Linked DNA regions of Homo sapiens: region 1 is linked to region 2. The links are contacts of gene promoters, found by promoter capture Hi-C in blood cells and fetal thymus (Javierre and others, 2016). All regions are on one chromosome and are shown on one strand. Each heading gives the region's core, a stretch centred on a gene start or on the middle of the fragment in contact. The rest is flanking DNA. Distances are from core to core; before and after follow the strand shown. Region 1 overlaps LOC124900839. Region 2 holds the start of HTT (huntingtin).

Region 1 (4,360 bases), core at 520-3,019, 1.1 Mb after region 2:
ATTCAGTAAAGTTGTAAAATTTATTGCTTTAAAGTAAAAATAAGGACTTTTTTTTTCCCTTTGGTCGCCCAGGCTGGAGTGCAATGGCACGATCTCAACTCACTGCAACCTTCGCCTCCCGGGTTCAAGCAATTCCCCTGCCTCAGCCTCCCAAGTAGCTGGGATTACAGGCGCCTGCCACCACGTCCAGCTAATTTTTGTATTTTTAGTAGAGACGGGGTTTTACCATGTTGGCCAGGCTGGTCTCGATTTTGAGATGGAGTTTCCCTCTTGTTGCCCAGGCTGGAGTGCAATGGCACGATCTCCGCTAACTACAACCTCCGCCTCCTGGTTTCAAGCGATTCTCCTGCCTCAGCCTCCTGGGTAGCTGGAATTACAAGCGCCTGCCACCACGCCCAGCTAATTTTTTGTATTTTTAGTAGAGATGGGGTTTCACCATGTTGGCCAGGCTGGTCTCGAACTCCTGACCTCAGGTGACCCGCCTGCCTCAGCCTCTCAAAGTGCTGGGATTATAGATGTGAGCCACCATGCCCAGCCAAAATAAGGACTCTTTATGTTGCAGAGTCAGGCAAATAAATTAGAAAAAAAGATAAAACTGCCTTCACAAATGGCATGATTGTCTTTGCAGAAAACTAATACAATGTATGAAAAAACTACTGGAACAAATAAATGCGTTTAGCCAGGCTGCAGGATACAAAATCAACACACAAAAATCTGTTGTATTTCTATATACTGGCGACAAACACTGATAAATTAAAAATTTTAAACAACACCCTTTACAACCACATCAAGGTTATGCAATACTTGGAGGCAATTCTGAAAAGATGTGCAAGACCCTTACATTGAACACTACAAAATGGGGCTGAGAAAATTTATTTTTTAATTTATTTTTAATTTTTTAGAGACAGAGTCCCACCATGTGGCTCAGGCTGGTCTTGAACTCCTGAGCTCAAGTGATCCTCCCACCTCAACCTCCTAAGTAGCTGGGACTACAGGCGCACCACCAGCCCAGCTTTTTATATTTGTTGTAGAGATGGGGTTTCGCCACGTTACTGAGGCTGGTTTCCAACTCCTGGGCTCAAGCAATCCACCCTCCTCGGCCTCCCAAAGTGCTGGGATTACATAGCCATGAGCCTAGCTGAGAGAATTTAAAGACCCAAATAAACAGAGAGAAATACTATGTTCACTAGACAGAAGTTACCAGTTCTCCCTCAACTGACCTACAGATTCAACACAATTCCACTCAAAATGCCAGAAGCCTTTTTTTTTTTTTGTAGAAATTGACAAACGATTCTAAAATTTATATGGAAATGCAGGCTGGGCACTGTGGCTCACCTGTAATCCCAGCACTTTGGAAGGCTGAGGTGGGTGGATCACTTGCGGTCAGGAGTTCTAGACCAGCCTGGCCAACAGGGTGAAACCCCGTCTCTACTGAAAATACAAAAATTAGCCAGGTTTGGTGGTGCATGCCTGTATTCCCAGCTACTTGCAAGGCTGAGCCATGAGAATTACTTGAACGCAGGAGGTAGAGGCTGAAGCAAGCTGAGATTGCATCACTGCACTCCAGCTTGGGCAACAGAGCCAGACCTTGCCTCAAAAAAAAAAAAAAAAAAAAAAAAAAAAAAGGAAATACAGAGGACCTAAAATAACCCAAATAACTTTAAAAAAAAAAAAGTCAGAGAATTAACACTACCTGATTTCAACACTTATTTTAGAAAGCTATAGTAACCAAGACAGTCTGGTATTGGCATAAAGATAGATGAGTAAGTCAGGATAGAAAAGTCCAGAAAGGATCGTCATTTCGACAAATAATATGGGAACAACTGGATACCATGTTTTAAAATGAAAAAAACTTTGGCTTTCTAATTTTGCAATCTGATAGGTGTAATGAGGCATCTTGTTATTTTAATTTGGGTTTGTCAGGTTGCTGATGAATTTAAGCATCTCTCCATGTGCTTCTCCGGTATTTGGGTTTCTCCTACGAATTGCTTTTTTTTTTTTTTTTTTTTTTGAGACAGAGTCTCGCTCTGTGGCCCACGCCTGAGTTCAGTGGTGTGATTTCCGCTCCCTCCAACCTCTGCCTCCTGGGTTCAAGCGATTCTCCTGCCTCAGCCTCCTGAGTAGCTGGGATGACAGGCATGAACCACCACGCCCCACTGTTTTCGTATTTTTAGTAGAAACGGGGTTTCACTATGATGGCCAGGCTGTGAATTGCCTATTCTTATCTTCTGCACATTTGTCTATTGTCGGTCTTTTTCTCGTCGATTTACAAGCATTCCTTTTTTCATTCTGAATATTAATCCATTGCTTTCTGATGCTGTAACTAAGTCCTCCTAGTGGTTTGTCTTCTTGGTTAAGCCAGATGTTAACTTGGATTTTTCCTGCATAAAACTGAAGACTCAAGATGCATCAAGCACTGTATACAGAAAAGTGCTGCGTATCCTACAGAAAGCTACAGACAGTTGGGGGTCAGAATCATTCGGATTGTTTCAAGTTTGGGGCTATTATAAATAAAGCTGCTATAAACGTTTGCACACAGGTTTCTGTGAACAAAAATTTTCATTTCAACCAACTAATGTTTACGGTTCAATCATGATTTCACAACTTGAAGTAACTTTCACTCTTCTCATACTAAATTTGATATGTCGTCCACTGTTAAACTATTTCTTACCCTCAGATTATAATTATTAAACTTTTTTTTTTTTTTTTGAGAGGGAGTTTTGCTCTTGTGGCCCAGGCTGGAGTGCAATGGCAAAATCTCGGCTCACCGCAGACTCCGCCTCCCGGGTTCAAGCCATTCTCCTGCCTCAGCCTCCCGAGTAGCTGGGCTTACAGGCAAGCCATGCGCCACCAAGCCCGGCTAGTTTTGTATTTTTAGTAGAGACGAGGTTTCTCCATGCTGGCCAGGCTGGTCTCGAACTCCCGACCTCAGGTGATCCGCCCGCCTTGGCCTCCCAAAGTGCTGGGATTACAGGCGTGAGCCACCGTGACCGGCCTAATCATTAAACTTCTTTCAGCACTAGCCCCACTGATGTCACAACTTCACCCATTAGTCAATAACTTGTCTTTGCTGAATTCGACACTTTTGAATCATTTAAAAAATATTCTCTTAAATTTTATGTGCTATTTGCAATGTAACGGTTGTCGACATGACAGTTTTAAGTTTAATCTTTATCATCAACATTTTCTCTATCACTTTCTTCAGTTTAAGCAATCAACAAAACCACCGCTCCAGCACTGATTTGTAGCATTTGCGGGTTTCCCCCGTGTGACTTCCGCAGGACTGCCAAGTTCAAGCCGCCAGGGCCAGGGCACTGCTAGCAGCTGGGCTGAGCCCTGTTCTCCCGGCGTTCCCACCGCCCAGTGGCAATAGCTGTGAACGGCGGCAGGAGCATGGCAGTGGAACAATAAGGAAAAGATCTTTTAAAAAAAAGATATAATACAGAAGCCAAGCAAGGCGGCCCCGACCTGTAACCCCAGCACTCTGGGAGGCAGAGGCGGGCGGGCGGATCGCTTGAGCCCAGGAGTTTGAGACCAGCCTGGCCAACATAGGAAGGCCTCGTCAAAAAGACAAAAGGGTAAAACGAATTTAATAAAATGAAGTTTAACTTTTACTCATGTTTGTATCTAATGACAAGCTTTTAAAACTGAAAAGTTCACTACTGGCTCCTGCCTGGCGGCTCCAGCCCGACTGGGGGCCGGGGCCTCCCTGCACTGTGGGGTCACGAGTGCCCCTGGACAGCTCCCGAGCGCCCTCCGACCCGCATGCTCAGCGCAGCCCCGTCGGCGGCGCGCCACGGGCAGAGCGGGCTCAGCGGGGGACGGAAGCTCAGCGCTGCGACCGGGATCCCGCAGGCTCGCTCCGCAGGGCCGCGGCTCCTCTCCGTGCAGGTGCTGGGCCCGCGGGGGCGGGGCGTCCACACGGTCCGCGCCGAGACCCAAGCGGGGAAAAAGCGAAGAGCGGACAGCGGGGCAGGTGCCACAGGGAGCCTCCGCCCCACCGCGCGAGCAGCAAGTCTGCGGCGCTTGACACCTGCACTGCGAATGCCAGGCCGCAGCCCGGGCTCCCAAGACGCGAATACGCGCGCCTGCTCGTGACGTCATTTTTTGCGGTCTTCCCGAGAGCCAGCAGAGGGCGCCGCCATGATGTTTTACGGAAGCCGATAGTCCTTGCTCAGCGGCACCCCGTCCTTCCGGCTCTCGGCTTTGCCACAAAGCTTCCCGAAGACGCGGCCGCTACCCGGAGACGCGGTCGCCACCCAGAAGCGCTCTCCCGGGAAGCCCCGCTCGTGGGACCGCGCCACCTGCGCCGCCTCTGCGGCCCGCAGCCCGACGGGCGCCGCCATGTTGGGGTCCTAGC
Region 2 (3,899 bases), core at 521-3,020:
ATTTTCTAATTAAACTTTGAAGACGAGACAAGGATCATAACAGAAACAAAGAACAAGAAATATTACTAAAAATTAATCAGTCTTAACAGAGATATTCTTACCAAATGCCATCTGGGACACATCCAGATCGGAAATAGAATACTGAGAGGTAAGAGAAAGGCCTGAACTGCACCAGAGTACTTCCTAACTCCTACTGTACACTCGACACACAGACTTCCAGGGAAAGTCCTGGGGTTCCGCTAGATGTTTTAATGGTCTCTCTTTTCCTGTTTCAAAAATTCTCCCCAAGAACAAGCAACAGAAACCCCTAGCTTCCAAAAAGTAACAAGCTGTCAGCAATGAAGCAAACAGAAACCCTTTCACTGGCACATCTGAGATGCCCACGGAGTCTGCGGACCCCCCGTATTCTGGCAAGCCTGACTGGAATACTGGTAAAATGTACACCTCATTCATCCCTCGGCAATTAACCTCCCCATCAGCAACGTGTTGGTTTTATTCCCAACACACATAGGCAAAAAACTTCAATCAACTCTTCCTAATATTTAAGATAATTTCATTAATCACCACGTAAGTTCACCACTTTACTTGGCAACCACAACTCATTCAAACGCCTGCAGACCAACTTAGGCTTAGATGAGCAGATCTCTTAGGTGGTGCTTAAAATCGTGTTACTACCACCGTGATCATGAACTAAATGAAATGTCCTGACAATGTAGGAAGAGCCTCAAATCTCAGGCTGTTTTAAGTGCCACTAGGAAAAGAAATCTCCCATTGGACGCGCCCTCACTCCCCGCCCCCCCCCTGCCCCGCCACTCCCGCCGAGGCGTCCTAAAAGCATTATGTCATCCACTGCCCCCACATCTCTCCAGCTCCAAACCCCGCCTCCTCTCGAAGTGTCCCGCGCCCCCAGCCCTCTTCCCTCTCAGACTAGAAGAGGGAAGTGGCACTGAGCAAATCTCGGCTCCTCCAAGTTCTCTTCACAACGCAGTTAAAAGAACCCCCGCCCTGGTTTCTCGCAAATAAAAAGAAACAAGTTCTCGCCCCAACTCTTCGCATCCTGCGAAGGGCGAGAGGGCTGAGGCCGTGACTCCCCTCGGTGAATTCAGGACAGGCCCCAACAAGGCTCTGCCTCCCCTCGCGAGAGGACAAGGGAAGACCCAAGTGAGGGAGCGGGGCTGAAGTGGGGGAAGGCCTCGCCCCAGGAGGGGGCGGGTGTCCCTCATGGGCTCTGGGTTGCTGGGTCACTCTGTCTCTGCGGGGCCGGGGGTTCGTGTCGCCGGCCCGCAGGCTGCAGGGTTACCGCCATCCCCGCCGTAGCCTGGGACCCGCCGGGACAGGGAGCTGCAGCGGGCCCAAACTCACGGTCGGTGCAGCGGCTCCTCAGCCACAGCCGGGCCGGGTGGCGGCGGGGGCGGCGGCGGGGGCGGCTGCGGCTGAGGCAGCAGCGGCTGTGCCTGCGGCGGCGGCTGAGGAAGCTGAGGAGGCGGCGGCGGCGGCGGCGGCGGTGGCGGCTGTTGCTGCTGCTGCTGCTGCTGCTGCTGCTGCTGCTGCTGCTGCTGCTGCTGCTGCTGCTGGAAGGACTTGAGGGACTCGAAGGCCTTCATCAGCTTTTCCAGGGTCGCCATGGCGGTCTCCCGCCCGGCACGGCAGTCCCCGGAGGCCTCGGGCCGACTCGCGGCGCCGCTCAGCACCGGGGCAATGAATGGGGCTCTGGGCCGCAGGTAAAAGCAGAACCTGAGCGGCCGTCCATCTTGGACCCGTCCCGGCAGCCCCCACGGCGCCTTGCGTCCCAGACGCTGCGCCGGCGGAGGCGGGGCCGCGCCGGCGGAGGCGGGGCCACGCCGGCCAGCATGATTGACAGCCCTAGCCTGCGGACTCTGCCAATGGCTGGCCAGGGAACCAGCCCGCCCCTGCCCCCGCAGGTTCTGCCTCACACAGCAAGGCCGCTGACAGCGCAGCGCCCCACCCGGGCGAAGGCGCGGGGCTCAACGGAGAGGGGACGGGGCGTGGTGAGACTGTAATGGGGTGAGGCGAAGCTGTGTGTGAAGTGTCGCGGCGAGGCGGGACGAGGAAGGGACGGGGCGGGACTGCATGGTAAGGGAGGCGTGGCGATGCGGGGGGCGTGGCGATGCGGGGGGCGTGGTGAGGTAGGGGCGTGGCGAGGCCGGGGCGGGGCACAGCAGGGAGGCCGCCTGAGGGGCGGGGCGAGACGGGGGCGGGGCGGGGCGATGCTGGGGACGGGGACATTAGGCAGGCCGGCTGAGGGGCGGGGCGGCTGAGGGGCGGAGCGGGATAGGGGAGGGGACTGGCCGGTGAGGGGTGGGGAGGCTGGGGGCGGGGCAGGAAGGTGAGAGGTGGGGCGAGGGAGGGGTGGGGCGCGGAGGGGCAGGGCCATGGAGGGGCTCGCCCATGAAGGACGGGGCCATGGACGGGGCGGGGCCGTGGAGGGGGCGCCGAGCGCGGGCGCAGGCCCATGCGGAAAGGATCCCCCGCCGACGCCTGGAGCGGGGCGACAGCCGGCCGTGGACTCTGAGCCGAGGTGGCCTTGGGGTTTGCCCTCCCGCCACACTGGCCCGTGGCCAGAGCCATACTCACCCGGACAGCCCTGCGGGGAGCCAGCTGCGGGGCTCTCTGCACGGGGAGAGGGTGGGCGAGCTCCTGCGCAGAGCGCAGAGAATGCGCGTGGTCGGCACGACCTGAGGACCCCAAGTGTGACCCCCACCCCACCCCCAGTGAGCTGGAGAGGCCCCTGCAGGGCGGTGTCCACAGGCCTGGCGCCCCCCATCGGTCCCAGCGCAGCGCCCCGGAAGGGAGGAGAGGGTCTGGGGCAGGCCTGGGTGGTCAGCGCCTGCTGCCCACAGAGGCACTGTGATTAGTGCAGCGAGAAGCAGCTATGGCCACAAGATGCCGCCCACAGGAATGAGTCCCGACCTGGGGGCGTTTCTTTATGGGAGTGCACCCCTGCTCTGACCTTCCGGCAGGACCCCCAAGGGGCGTCATTCAGCAGCAGCTCAGCAGAGGTCTGTGGGGCACCCCCTCACGCCTGGGACACAGGCCGTGGCGGGCAGGGTCCTGGTCTCCAGAGCCTCCTGCCTTTTGGGTGGTAGAGGGGCAAACGGAGAGGGCAGCTGTCCAGCCTGCCCAGCAGGGAGTAAGGTTGGCCTCAGAGACAACCGCCCAGCCGGGGGGTGATGCAGGCAGAGAGGAGCCCAGTAAAGCCTACTTTAGCCAGGCCACACCTGCAACCCAGAGTCCCCTGCTCTGTGGCCACAAACAGCACCTCCGCCTTGTCTCAGAGCCTGTCCTAAAGGGAAACCCAGCATTGTCCCCAGTGGGGTAGCAGTAGCCTCCCTTTTCTTGAGAAGGACAGCAGAGAAACAGCTGTTAGTTCCCAGTTCTTGGGAGGCTGATGTGGGAGGATCACCTGAACCCAGGAATTTGAGGCTGCAAGTGAGCTAGGATTGCACCACTGCACTCCAGCTTGGGTGATAGAGCGACACTGTCTCTAAAAAAATTAAGTTCCAGCGAGGTGCGGTGGCTCACGCCTGTAATCCCAGCACTTTGGGAGGCCAAGGCAGGCAGATCACCAGAGGTCAGGAGTTCGAGACCAGCCTGGCCAACATGGCGAAACCCTGTCTCTACTAAAAATACAAAAATTAGCCGGGTGTAGTGGTGCATGCCTGTAGTCCCAGCTATTCCGGAGGCTGAGGCAGAATTGCTTGAACCTGGGAGGTGGAGGTTGCAGTGAGCCAAGATCATGCCATTGCACTCCAGCCTGGGTGACAAGAGTGAGACTCTGTCTCAAAAATAAATAAATAAATAAAGTTCCCAGTTCTCTGCTGTTAATAAGGGCCTTTGTCCACTGTGTCAGGCCTCAAGGTTGTTAGTTACCTCAGTGG

Evidence for each region. Contacts are between HindIII fragments. The CHiCAGO score rates a contact against its expected background, and 5 or more counts as called.
Region 1: a contact is called between a fragment that was not itself captured here and the fragment with the promoter of HTT in region 2, in 1 of 17 cell types (neutrophils). The highest score is 5.4, in neutrophils.

What each region holds. Positions count from the first base shown.
Region 1 is chr4:2,009,019-2,013,378 of GRCh38, reverse strand. LOC124900839 reads left to right here. Exons shown (of 4, transcript XM_047416543.1): 4 at 3,206-4,360. The coding sequence starts at 3,618. Among named protein-coding and RNA genes, the nearest start is that of NELFA, 2.2 kb to the right of the region's middle. RefSeq lists a silencer at 3,655-4,034 and enhancers at 4,095-4,360, 4,222-4,360. The HindIII fragment of the contact is 3,743 bases long and covers 1-3,640 here.
Region 2 is chr4:3,072,552-3,076,450 of GRCh38, reverse strand. It overlaps HTT (huntingtin), which reads right to left and starts at 1,770. Exons shown (of 67, transcript NM_001388492.1): 1 at 1,363-1,770. The coding sequence starts at 1,625. It also overlaps HTT-AS. RefSeq lists enhancers at 875-924, 935-1,164 and silencers at 1,325-1,394, 1,505-1,944, 2,095-2,714. The HindIII fragment of the contact is 9,982 bases long and covers 1-3,899 here.